3 separate regions of the Homo sapiens genome follow, and all the other regions are linked to region 1. The links are contacts of gene promoters, found by promoter capture Hi-C in human tissues and cell types (Jung and others, 2019). All regions are on one chromosome and are shown on one strand. Each heading gives the region's core, a stretch centred on a gene start or on the middle of the fragment in contact. The rest is flanking DNA. Distances are from core to core; before and after follow the strand shown. Region 1 holds the start of MLLT3 (MLLT3 super elongation complex subunit). Region 2 overlaps DENND4C (DENN domain containing 4C). Region 3 overlaps SLC24A2 (solute carrier family 24 member 2).

What was found. The method cuts DNA at HindIII sites, captures the fragments that hold promoters and counts their contacts. A contact is called where the count stands out against the background at its distance.
Region 2: a fragment that was not itself captured here is called in contact with the fragment with the promoter of MLLT3 in region 1 in 1 of the 25 tissues and cell types used here (dorsolateral prefrontal cortex).
Region 3: a fragment that was not itself captured here is called in contact with the fragment with the promoter of MLLT3 in region 1 in 1 of the 25 tissues and cell types used here (dorsolateral prefrontal cortex).

The regions. Positions count from the first base shown.
Region 1 is chr9:20,620,574-20,625,067 of GRCh38, forward strand. MLLT3 (MLLT3 super elongation complex subunit) reads right to left here and starts at 1,926. Exons shown (of 11, transcript NM_004529.4): 1 at 1,672-1,926; 2 at 81-261. The coding sequence starts at 1,683. RefSeq lists an enhancer at 155-284 and silencers at 1,215-1,264, 1,335-1,484, 1,905-2,364, 2,385-2,524. The HindIII fragment of the contact is 4,373 bases long and covers 1-3,615 here.
Region 2 is chr9:19,371,551-19,376,044 of GRCh38, forward strand. It overlaps DENND4C (DENN domain containing 4C), which reads left to right. Exons shown (of 33, transcript NM_001330640.2): 32 at 206-270; 33 at 487-2,731. The coding sequence ends at 623. RPS6 (ribosomal protein S6) reads right to left here. Exons shown (of 6, transcript NM_001010.3): 6 at 4,165-4,494. Among named protein-coding and RNA genes, the nearest start is that of RPS6, 6.4 kb to the right of the region's middle. The HindIII fragment of the contact is 5,326 bases long and covers 1-4,494 here.
Region 3 is chr9:19,548,240-19,552,733 of GRCh38, forward strand. SLC24A2 (solute carrier family 24 member 2) reads right to left here. Exons shown (of 11, transcript NM_020344.4): 8 at 1,898-2,029. All of the region lies in intron 4 of LOC105375988 (a long non-coding RNA gene), which reads left to right. Among named protein-coding and RNA genes, the nearest start is that of MAP1LC3BP1, 87 kb to the left of the region's middle. The HindIII fragment of the contact is 4,246 bases long and covers 361-4,494 here.

The sequences.
Region 1 (4,494 bases), core at 676-3,175:
GCGGGACAGCGGGACCGCCCGGGCCAAGCGATTGTTTCAAAGACATTTTTTATCAAGACCCTTTTGTATTCGAGCCCTACCTCTTTTTGGCCTAGGAAAGCTTTCGTGCAAGTGGAAGACGACTTTCTCCACAAAGTGCTGTATGTTACTGTGCTCCGGACCGCGTACGAACACCATCCAGTCGTGGGTGAAGCCCTCCACGGTGGGTTTTTTCCTCACCTGGGCGCGGTGCCCCAGCTCCAGCTTCACCTGCACGGCACACTGCGGGCAGGGGGAGGAGAGACAGCCGTGAATAACAGGAAGGCGAGGTTTCGGCAGTGAACGTTGCGCCTGACATTTTTTTCCTCCTTCTTGAAACGCACATAAAAGGAAACGGCGGTGCCCTCTGCATCCACGTTTCACGCGCGTGGGCGCGCACACTCCACACCCCCAAATATACCCGCCCGCCCGGCCCGGCTTGGCCCCAGGCGCCCCGGGCCCCGCATCTACATCGGACAGGATTGTAACGGAATGTTATCCCCAGTCGGGAAGGGGGTCGGGGAAAAGAGGGAGAACACACTCAGCCACGACAAGCACGACAACAAATGCATCGGAAACAAATCAGAAGGCGATGCCGGGGCGGTTTCCCGGCGTGGGAGGGGAGGTGGCTGGGACCCAGGGGGACCGAAGGGCTCCTGGCGAGCCCCCTCCCCGAAAGTACCGCGGCGACAGGCACACGCCGAGGAAGTCTTTGTGTACGTGTGTGTGCGTGCGTGTGGAGCGCTGTGCCAGGCGAAATGGAAACTACAGGCAGCCTCTGCTGATGGGCACAAACTCCCGTGCTCTTGCCACGGGGTTCGTGCACAACAAAAATGAGACGTCGTCATACACACTGAAACACACACACACGCCCGCAGGAAAACACGCCGAGGCATCCATAACTTAGAGCACCCCGCACCCCCCAGCGAAAAGCCCCACGCGATCGGCGAGGCCAGTCGAACCGAGCCCCCGCAACACACTTTCAAGAGCCCAAGTGGCTCCAAAGTATCTCCCACCTCCCCCCAAAAAATGAAATTCAGAAAGGCAGGGCGGCGGGCGGACAGCCGCCGAGCCTCGGCTCGCGCTCAGCACCTCCCGGCGCTGGGGCAAAGTTGCGTGCGGCCCCGCCGCTGTCAGCCCCGCACACTTCGGCTCACACACGCGCGCCGCGGAGAACGCACCATCGTAGCGGCCGCGGCGCTTTGCGGAGGTGCGGCCGCCGAGGCTGCTCGCCGCGTCCCCGGACTGTGCCCGCAGCTCCCGGCGGCGGCGGCTGAAATATGGCTGAGTTATTATTCGCCTCCTTCCACCGTGTGTGTGTGTGTGTGTGAGTGCGCGCGTGTGAGCGAGAGGGAGTGTGTGAGTGCGCTTCTTGTGACTGCAAAGAGGCGAGGAGGGAGGGAGGCGCGGGGGGTGGAGGGGCGAGTGTGAGCGTGTGTGAGTGTGTGTGTGTCTGTGTGTCTGTGTGCGCGCCGGGGGGGGGTGGGGGAGGAGGGGAGCGGAGGCTGAGGGAGAGGCGGCAGCTCCCTGCAAGCCGTACCAACCTTTCTCTAATTGGAACCGCGGAGCGCTGGCGCTGTCTGGGCTGCGGCGGCGCAGGGCGAGGAAGGAAAGTGGGGGAGGGCTTTTATTATTATTTTTGCGCGTACTTACCGAGCTAGCCATGCCTGGGGGCCCGGAGGTTTGCTGGGGTGTTGTGTGGTACCCCCCCCTCCTCCGCCCCCCCTCAGCTGTAATTCATGAAGAGGCTGCTATGAATGAGAGCGCGCCCAGGAGCGGAGGGTAGATGGCGGACATTCTCTGCCTTTTTCCCCCCGCGCTCGCTTGCTCGCTCGCTCGCTTATTAAACTCAGCCCCAAAAGCAAAAGCAGCAGCAGCAGCAGCAGCTCCAGGGTAAAGAAGATGATTGCGGAGCATGCGCCGTGGCGCCTGACACCCGGGCTCCGAGCCTCACAGGGCGGAGGGAGGGCTTGCGGGCGGGGCGGAGCGCGCGGGGAGGCAGAGCGAGCGAGCCAGGGGGAGCTCGAAAGAGCCAATCACCTGCCACCTCCCGAAACCCCGGCGGCCCGCAGCGCCACACTGGAAAGCCTCGCTTAAAGTAACAGGTTCCTGCTGGGGGGGTGGCAGGGAGGGGACGCAGGAGTGGGGAGAGCGGCCAGCTGGGGAGCCATCCCAGCCCCTGTGTAAACTCTGCTCGCCCTACAATAAAAAACGGATTAAAACTGCTGGAATGTAGCCACTGCTTAGAGCCCTCAGCAGCCGGAGAGGGGGTGTTAAATCAAGTCCTTAGCTAGTACGCACGGGGAGGAGGGAGTGGGCTTTCTTTTACTTTCCACCACGTATTTCTGTGGTTTTGTGCTGAAAAGACAAGAACTCACACCCAAACAAACTTACTTAAAGAGAGCGAGAGAAATGCCATCCTGCAAAAAACGAGCATGAAAATAGCAATGACTGAGGCTGTTCTAACCCGCAACGATCCCCTGGCCCCCTGCCCCATCCACTCACAGGCACCCGCCCGCCACCCTCACTCCCCGCCCTTCTGCCACCGCCACCGAAAATTTGAAAATGAAATGAACAAGGGAGAAACAAGGATGCTATTTCCTTGCAAGGGAACGCCTTCCGCTTTGGTAATCCCCGGCTGGGAAGCTTCATAAAGCGGTGCCCAGGTGAAAGCAAGACACCTGGGAGTGCCGGGTACAGACCCTCGGGGACCAGGCTTGGAGTTGTTTTCTTCGGGGGGCTTCCCCTCCTGACAGCCTACTGAGTTGCATCAGAACGTGGAGGATTGTCCTCTGAGGACGCGCGGGGCAACCGGGAGTCTTAAAATAGCAGATAAAGTTAATACTGACTGTAATGTGCGTAAATTGGATTATAATCTTTAGGCGTATTGGTGACAACCAGCGTAATCCATCTCTGAGTATTAATCCGGTTAGACTCCCGGGTGACAGCCAGTCGCAGGAGTGTTCCCAGAGTCGCGCCTCTGCAAATGTTCTCACTCGCGTTGTATTTGATCTCAGTGGCCGGAGATAGAACAGCGCGGCCACGCGTGGGGCGCGGAGAGGAGTATCAACTACTGGCTTCCTTTACAGACGCAGATAACCTTTAAAAAGGAAACGGATAAGATCTAGACGATTGATTTGAAAGTGAAAGATGGATGTGACTTTGGTTCGTTAAAAAAAGATCCTTGCATCTTCCTAGCCCTTAGACCTCTTTTGCCTTCTCTTTACTCCCCTTTTTCCCTCGCCTTCCAACTTCTTGCTGAACCTTGATTTTTCCTTCTCTTCTCCTTGCCTTTCCTCTTTGTCCCTCTTTCTTTCCTCTTTGTCCCTTTCTTTCCTCTTTGTCCCTTTCTTTCCTCTTTGTCCCTCTTCCTCTTTCTGACTGAACTTCCTTGCTTTCCTCTTTTCCCTTTACTTCCCTTTTCCACAAAAGCAAGTTGTCTCGGCCCTTGAATTGAGAAGAGCAGAATAGCGGGGAGGACGTTACCTAGGGCGTCCTGTGTCCTCGCTGTTAATTTTCAGTTCTCCCAGCAGCTCTCACAAAGATCCTGGGAATCAGGTCGGACCACTTGGAACCAACCTTAGTTTCCAAACCAGCAGCCTTCCAACTCAACTTTTGATTCCCTAAAACTGATATTCCGCTGCCTGTCAGTTATAATCAAGAAACTTCTTTGGCTTGAGGTCCCCAGTTCTTCCCAGCCTTCTACAGGATTTAGCATAGAATGGAGCAAACGACTGAAGGTAGAAACATTTTAATCTAAATCCAAGGGCTTAGATTTGTCAACTGACACACATATACATAACTGCATATCATCCTGTAGGTATATGCGTCGCTGTGTCTGTATGTATGTACAAGGACTACGTTTATATTCGCAGAGACAAGCTGTGTGGGTAGTATCTACGTGAAGGGGGGACCTATTTATTGTGCATTATTAAACTTTTCATAAAATAATCAAATTTGAGAGCAGTCCTTTGTAATAATAGTATTGGAAACTAAAGGTTATCTGGACGTGCCATTAGTAAAGCCATTTCTTATTAAGAAGTAACCATTAACAGCGAGTGTAGCTCAGGACACAGGCAAAAAACAACAATCCCATTCCCCGTTTGAGTTCATTTCAGGGTTTAACTTCTTCCGGCGCCAGCCACCGGACTCTCTTGAGATTGTCTCCAAAACTTGTACCCGCACAACAGATAGAGGTCTCTTTTTTGAATTATGTGTTTGCTGAATTCAGATTTATTCCAGCAATCACTAATAAGCCATAGAGTCTGAAAGGGTATTTTCCCAGTACCCCTCCTTCCTCAAAGAATGCTCTAACAACCCAACGTAGTTACTCCCAATCTCCAAATACTGGACATTTAGATTCCGTCAGTAGATGGCGCACGGAGCTCTTCCACGGACGTCCTTACGTGACCCCTTCACAACAAAAAGATCAGGAAGGGGGAGAAAAGAAAGAAAAGAAAACACAAGACTGAATAC
Region 2 (4,494 bases), core at 803-3,302, 1.2 Mb before region 1:
AGAATTCAATGTAGCCTTCACACAGCTTCCTCCAAATGTGACACCTCATATAACTAACTGTAATGTAATATTAAAACCAGGACATTGACATAGTTATATTACTATTAACTAGATGACAGAACTTAATGTCTTCACCATTAAAAAAAATGCATCTGTGTTTTTATGCTATTTGCCCATTGACTTTTAAAACATATTTGTTTTATAGGAGTTTATACAGAGAAATCCTCTTCTTATCATTAGTGTCTCTAGGAAGAGAGAATATTGATATTGGTAAGTTGGTTAATAAAAGATTATGAAAGGAAGTTTTACATTTTATTTTCAAAAGTAATTTTTAAAAATGTAGCTGGTATGTATAAAAGATTTAAAAGATTTCTACTTCTAAATATATAGTTCAAATACATATAATTTGACTCAATACCAATTTGAAATGAACGGCTGTTGTCTTTCTTAACAAATTACAACTTCATTTTTGAAAATTTCTTTCAGAGGCATTTGACAATGAATATGGAATTGCATACAATAGTCTGTCTTCAGAGATTCTTGAAAGGTTGCAGAAAATTGATGCTCCACCAAGTGCCAGTGTCGAGTGGTGCAGGAAGTGTTTTGGAGCGCCTCTCATTTAAATAGAGATTCACTAGAATGTTGACACACAAGGCTTGGGGATTAGATTTCATCTGGAAACATTCAAGTTTTTTTTTCCAAATCGTAAGAACTGGTGAATACGGAATTGAAGTAACTCTTGGGGACAATATATAATGAATTATGATTCATATTGCATTACCTTGAAATATGAAGTGCCATTTGAATGTCCCAGGGCTTATTAATATTGAAGATTTTCAACCCCTGAACTGCTTTTCTGCCTCTGTGGAAAACTACTTTGGGATTCTTCAGTATTTGTAGTAGTTTGATAGAAATAATGAGGAACCATATTCATTCTAGGCATTGTTTATATTTGAAGTTACTGAGTTTGAGGAATGGCAAATTAAATTTGCCTAACCCCCAAAACAAATGAAATATCTCAATTATAAAAGCAACATGGCCGGGCACGGTGGCTCAGGCCTGTAATCCCAGCACTTTGGGAGGCTGAGCAAGGTGGGTGGATCACTTGAGGCCAGGAGTTCGAGACCAGCCTGGCCAACACGGTGAGACCCTGTCTTTACTAAAAATACAAAAATTAGCCAGGCGCACCACTGTAGTCCCAGCTACTCAGGCTGAGGCAGGAGAATCGCTTGAACTGAGGCAGAGGCTACAGTGAGTGGAGATCACGCCACTGCAACTCCAGCTTGGGTGACAGAGTGAGACCGTCTCAAAAAAAAAAAAAAAAAAAAAAGAGAGCAACATATTTGTGTAAGTTTGTATATGTGTAGGGCTGTGTAGGTATGTGTATATACAGCCATATTCTAAGTGTATATTTATTAAAATAGATTGCATGTTGCAATACGGTTTTCTGAAAGGGGTCTCATTGACTATTAAATAAATGACTACTACTAAACTTGTCTGTAGTCATTAATCTTAAAATTACCTGAAAATCTGATGACAGCTGCCTTCCCTAACTTTAATGTATTAGGTTGGCACAAAATTAATTGTAGTTTTTGCCACTATTAATGGCAAAAACCGCAATTATTTTTGTACCAACATAATACACCTTTCATATTATGTATTATCTTGCTTAATGGGTTTTATCTTGATTATCCAGTTACTTCCATCCTCTTCCCAATGTTAATTTGCAATAGTTTTAAAATGGGAACAAATGAATCAATCATCAGATAGTTAAAATGAAATTAAATCAGCTGCCTAATAATTTATGGAATTCATTGGAATGTGCTTAAAATGCTAAAGTGTATGTCATTGAACATGAAATCTTTTTTCAGGCACATACATTGTTGGTATTGATGACTTTTTAAAACCTGTGGGATAAACTTGCACTGCACACGGAAGTTTTATTCTTGTATATTTAGATTTGTATGCTTGTGAGTAAAAATGTGCATTTGTAAATACTGTGTTTTTAGGTTGAATCAATTAAGTCTTAAAACTGTAAATTTATTAAGCTTGTTGCCAGTAGGTTTAAGAAAATCATGATCTCACATGCCTCACTTTGACATTTATCATGCCTTTTATTAAAAATATCCCTTAGGAACAGTAAGTTTGCCTTAACTCTCTGCATGGTTTAAAAAGCCATTGGTTTTGTGTGTGTTTACAGTAATTATGCAGATGACTAAATGAGTTGACACAGTAAAATTACTTCCATATGGTACAGTAACAACCTAACTCCCTTCTACCTGATGTAACCATTTACAAATTATAGTTATTGTACCAGTCTTTCAACATTTCAGGGTTAATCTGACCTATGCAGAATTCTAGTGTGAATTTATTGTGAAAATGCTAAATGAAACAATTTGTCAGAAATTATGTACAATTTTCATTACCTTCAAAATGGATCTTTTGCACTGTCTGAGAGTATATATTTTTGCAACTCAAGACTTGGTACTAGTTTTAATACTTAACACTTACTGACCCAACAGAAGTTTGGAATTACCTTGCATATAAAAATTGAGGTTGAATAAAATGAAAAATTGTTGTTTTCTGTTACATTAAGCCTCTTGAAATCTGTAATCTTTAGAATCCCAATATTTTGTTTTTTCCATTCCTTCACTCGTAACTTGAACTCAAGTTTTCACTTACTGACGCGCTTCCCATTAAAAAAAATCTGTAAAGATCTCTACCTTGAAAACTTTAGTCTGCTGCTGCCATTTAGATATTGGGACTGATTTCTTGTTATAAATTTTTAAAGGCTTTTTCCAATACCCACCACAGAGAGGGTACCACTAAAAATTTACAAGACAAAAACATTATTATGGAAAGATTTAGAAGTACCTGGAATGACTTGTAGCACTGTATGCAACTTTAATCCTGATAACTTCTAAAAGCAATCTTTCAAATTAGTCCAGATTACTCAGCAGTACCTTATATTGGTTTGGGGTTCGATAGCGATTTTTTTTTCTTCCAACGAACGAATTGTACAGGTTGATCACAACCTGCATAGTTAACGACATGTCAGAATGACTTGCGTGTGTGTGGAGAACTGGGTATGGTGGCTCACGCCTGTAGTAATCTCAACACTTTGGGATGCCAAGGCAGGCGGATCACTTGAGCCCAGGAGTTCAAGAGTAGCCTGGGTAACATAGCAAAACTCTACAAAAAGCACAAAAACTAGCCGCAGTGCACACCTGTAGTTCCCAGGCGGTCAAGGCTGCAGTGAGCCATACCACTGCTCGCCATCCGGGGCGTAGGAGTGAAACCCTGTGTCAAAGAAAAAAAAAAATCTAAGGAAAAACAGACTGTCCTTATTTTGTGGCTGCACTCAATTTTCAGAAAGCAGGGCGGTTCTCATGTTTTGTGCATCATAAACAAGAACTGGTTAATATAAAACTTTGGACCATAACACTGGACTCACCTTGTGGCTTTTAAGTTCCTCTCTCTGCTTGTGCTAAATTTTTTTTTTTTTTTTTTTTTGAGATGGGAGTCTTGCTCTGTCGCCCAGGCTGGAGTACAACAGTGTAATCTTGGCTCACTGAAACCTCAACCTCCCTGGTTCAAGCGATTCTCCTGCCTCAGCCTCCCGAGTAGCTGGGACTACAGGCATGCGCTAATTTTCGTATTTTTAGTAGGAACGGGGTTTCACCATGTTGGCCAGGCTGGTCTTGAACTCCTGACCTCAGGTGATCCACCTGCCTTGGCCTCCCCACCTGGCCATCCCCTTTGCCTTTTAAGTTCTGCATATTATTATTGATTGCCAACTAAGATTCTTTTCATGTTATGTAGCTTTTTAACACCATGTAGTAAGAGGAATAGTTAAGAATCTTAGTAGGCATCGAGGGACTGGCACTACCGGCCTAACACCTGGGAGCTTTTTAGTAATGTAAAAATGTGGGTCCCCACTCCTCTATCAATCACTATCTGCGCCTTAACCAGACCCCTAGGTGATTCACATGTACATTTAACATTTAGAACTCTGCTTTGTAAAGCTATTATTACAGTAATGCCAACAAAGAGCTTGCATTACTTCAACCTTAAAGCCTAATGTGCCACCTTCTAAAGATCCTGATATTGTCACAATAGGCTAGTCAGCATAGAACTGTTAGAAAAAAGTACATACTTTGTGCATTTTTCACTGATCCAAGAATGTTTTTAGTCATTTCCTTTTCAGTGTGTGAACAGCCTAACAATTCACTGGAGTTGAAAAGCTTTGTTAAAACAAATTTGAAATGGCTTAAAAACCATTTAGTGGATGGTATCCACTAAAACTAGGTATCCACTAAAACTATGCCTTAAAAGTTACCTTTTAAAAAAGACATGTTCATCTTCACAAGGTCAATTTTCATGTATTAAATTGTGTATAGTGCTTTAAAGAGCTATATTCCTCAAAAATAAACTATATAAAAAAGATTAATAGTCCTCATCATTTCCCCTAAGTTCCATGCCATTCTGAAGAGG
Region 3 (4,494 bases), core at 1,234-3,733, 1.1 Mb before region 1:
TATTCCAAGTGCTTTTAGAAATGATTTTTTTTAAATGATTTTTTTTTCTACTTTGTGGCATCACTAAATATGAAGCAAAGCCCAAGCCATGTGGTCACATAGACCTGGGTCTGGATCTCAGCCCTACCTTCTAGGAAATGACCAGGTATAAATTAACTTCTTTGTGCCTAAGTTTCTTTCTACTTATGCCAACAATATACATATTCCTACCCTAGATGTTTCCTGAAATTACATAATATAGTTTACTGTGGACCAATAACTCAAGGCCTTGGGCTCTCAGGGTTGGGAAGGACTTTTAGAATAAAGGCTGGCAAAATGTTCATCCTCTTGCCAATCTGAGTTGAAAGATCAAGAAGGTATTAGACCAGATCAAAGTCTCCTGATTGGCAACTGTGGCAAACCAACAGGAATCAATCAAGGCAGTTGGTTATGACGACTGCCCTGGCTGATGCACCTAACAAGAAAATGGAGCTGTCCACAATGCTCTCCTCCCTGTGCAGTCCCCCTTTGAGAGTCAGCCCCTGCAGCATGGCCAGGGTAGCCACTGGGACTTCTCTCATTGCTCCCGCCAAGGGCCAGCCCTGGGATGGACTGTATTTCCGAGTATACTGTGTGCTGTTCCAAACAGAAATGAGACTCTCACGAGGAACATTTAGTGCAGAATCTGATGCATATTAGGTATACAGTTTTGTTGAATGAGTTTGTGTGTGTGGTCCTATACTAAGAAGTAGAGCTGTTTCTCCTTCCCTCTCCTTAGTTCTTTCACCTCTGGGGCAATGGCCCAAGAACTCACTTCAACAACAGTGGGTGGGTGTATTCTCTTGATTTGGTCTATACTCAGGTTGTAATTTGCTGATGTTGTTGCGTTCGGAGCACCCAGTATGTGATAATGGTAGATAATAAAATCGATTAAAGTAATGATAGTAAACATAGTCGATTAAAGTAATGATAGTCACAAGAATGTTCAAGAAAATGTGAGTAACCTTCCTGCTTCAGACCTTCAGTTGCCCTTCTTACCTTCTCAGAGACAAACGCTGTGGGGGTTTTAAAACATGTTTGCAAATTCTTTGACACTCTTCCCAACAGGAGAGTGATATGCTATATGACACTGACGTATTCTAGGTAAACTTTTTGTTTCCTCCCCCTTTAATCAAGACACACTTAGGACTGCTTTGGTCAATAGGGCATAGCAGAAGTGAATCTATGTAACTTCTGGGACTGAATCATCACAGACCATGCAGTTTCTGCCTTCTGTCACTGCAACATTCACTCTTGGAGTCCTGACTGACCTCTTATGTAAAACATTTCACTATCCTGAGGCTACCATGCTGTGAGGAAGCCCAAGTCACATGAAAAGGCCATGTTTAGGCATTCCAGTAGACCGTCCCAGCTGAGCCTAACCTTTGAATCATTTCTGCCCAGGTGCCAGAAATGGCAAAGAAGCCTCCAGATGATGGTAGCCCCAAGATGAGATACACATAACCCTTCAAGTCTTTCTACTTCAGGCCACAGACATAATGGAGCAGAGACAAGCCATCCACAATGTGCCCTATTCAAATTCTTGATCGACAGGATCCAAGAAAAGACTAAAAGGATGGTTGTTTCACACCACTAAGTTTTGGGGTAGTTTGTTATGCAGATTTGATAACCTGAACAATCAGTGTGATTGTGTGTCTGCTCAGAGAAATCTGTATATTCTTAATGTCACTTTCTCTTTTTCCTTAAACTTAAATATTTTTTCTTGTTACATAATAGTTGTACCTATTTATGGGGTATATGTGAGATTTTGATACAAGTGTACTTCCTTTTTCCTTTTAACACAAACTGAAGCAGACTATGCACCCTGTTATGTACCATATGTTTTACAAGGGAACTATTTTTAAAATGCTTTACTTACAGGTTTGCGAACGTCAGGTAACGTAATCCAGAGAGGAAACACTATGGGGAAAACAATCAGAAACGTGACTTGCTTGCGGGTTTCAGAAGGCCAGGCAAGGCTGAGAGGCTGGTCCTCCTCCTCATCAGCGGTCTGTGGTAGAAAAAGAGGTAAAATTAAACAAACAAAAAAATAAAATGTACACAGGCACAACAACAGGAGCACAGAACAAAGGGGAAGCTCCATGTCTTATCAGTTTTCTGGACTCGTTCCAGTAGCTTCATATGTGTGATTTTGAGATTTGTCACAGTCTGAGTCCTAGGAACAAATAATACATTGTCCAGCCATGAGCATGTAAGAATTTTCTTTTATCTCCTTGAATGCTCTTCAGTTTCTCATGTTCATCAACTGATTATTCAACTGGAGTGGGCTACAACTACAATTCACGAGCTTCTTATAACAAACTATATCTGTGGAGGAAAAGACTTGATGACCACCATCTCCCCATCTTTCCTTCTCCTTGAAGACAGAGTCACAAGCTTTCAGGCTCCTTGGGAAGGAGAGCACTGATAAAAAATATTTCTTTTTCTCTTTTTTTTTTTTTGGAACACTGATTTTCATCAGGCAAATGAAAGTAACCACAGAAACAATTCAGTAATACTACTAAGAGAGATTAACTTCCCACTGGCCTTGGAATAGCTAAGTGCATTGATTTTTGTGTAGTTGTGAGTTTTTTTCTTTCATTGATATTTTACGTATTTCTGGGGTAAATGTATTTTTTACATGCATTGAATGTGTAATGATCAAGTCAGGGTATTTGGGGCCTCCATCACCTTGAGTGTTTATCATTTCTATGTGTGGTAACATTCCAAGCCCTCTCTTCTAGCTTTGGAATATATAGTGTGTTGTTGCTAGCTACGGTCACCCTAGTCTCCTAAGGAACATTAGGACTGATTTCTTCTATCTAACTGTAAGTTTGTACCCATTGACCGACCTCTCTTCATTTCTCCCTGTCACCCCCACACCCTTCTCAGGTTGTGAGTTGGTCACCTGCTTAACCACAGCTAAATTCTAAACCATTGTACTTGCAGCCAAAGACAACTTATGCAAACATATGTCTCAGTCCTCAGAAACAGAAAATACAAGTCAAGCAAGACAGTGAACCTGCACGGGGTGTCGGAGCCAGGGAACAAACTTCAGAGTCTCTGACTTGGCAGCCAATGGCCAGCGTTTTATTTGTCAGCCACTGAAGTCAGTAGCTTCTGAAGTCAGGGCTAGAAGAGATGGAGGGGGAGGGTCTGGGCCCAGCAGGGGGTGACCGTTAGCCTGTCAGCTGAGCCCTCAATACTTCCAAAACAGCACTGTAGACATCATCAATCACTCCCTTCCCTGCTTGTTTGAAAATGAAAGTGCAGCAGTGGACCACGCATCAGATCTAAAAATATCAACAGGAACTTTTCCACTGATGCTTCCTTTTGAGACCATATAAATAACTTTAGAAAGCTCCTACCCCTGGGGCTCTTGCTTCCAGCACCATACACTTTTCAAACAGTAACAGCGCCCCCCTCCAGCACCTGTGTCCCTACAGAGGTGGCATGAGGGGCAGGCTCAGGTCAGCTGGCCTTGAGGAGAGGTCAGGGCTGGGTGAGAGGCCGGGCTCACAGCAATGCTATGTCTTGTTTATTTATCTGGCAAAACTGAGGTACTGCAGAAAGTATGTATAGTGTTTTATACAATCTCTTCAACTCTCCCTAGGAGTTACAATTTGAAATAATAATTTAAAAAAGGGATGCGAAGCCATATTGAAAAGGGTTAGTAACAACAGGTTCTTCTGCTTTGGGTATATGTCCTTGGCAGTGGGTAAAAGAATTTGTAAACAGCAAATATGGTGGAATTAAAGGGATTAGGTATAATAATAATAAGGCAGCATCAGGAAGTTGACAGTTTATTTTGGTACCCTGGATCCTTTTTAAATATACACCTCACACTCCCTATTTCTTTCTATGCAATTCACATATTATTCCATCCATTGCTTTCTTTCTTCCATCCTGAGGGCTCCCATCTTTGGTGGAAGCTTGGTGTGCTGGCTCTGGTCCCTCTTCTATGCCACCTCTGTCTCTTCCTTGTGGATATAGCAGGTGTAGAGAATATCATTCCCTATTGGGCTCACCAGCCTCCCAAGGTGTCAGCTAGCTACGTGAATAATCTTTGTGTCATGGGGCCAATGTGGATTAAGGAGACAGGTATATTTTCCTGTCTGTTCCCTCCCAGATATGATCCTTCTTGTTTAACCCAAATGAATGACTTTCCCCTTACCTCCTGGCAGATGCCCCAGAAATAGGCATGGGAGCCTTGGGGTACTGCATCATTCTTAATAAATACCCCATCTCACATGAGAGATGATTTTTTTTTCTAGCAGAGAGTCAGTCAGCTTCCCTGAAGACCCATCAAGCTGATGAGTTCATTAAGGCTCCTCCCCATTCTGAGATTGATGCCTCCCCCTAGCTCTGTTCATCACTACCATCCACAATCTAGCAACTTTTCTCTCGACTTCAAGCTAACCTTTTTCTGATAAAACACAAAAGCAACTCTTTATGACTCATATCATTTTAATGACA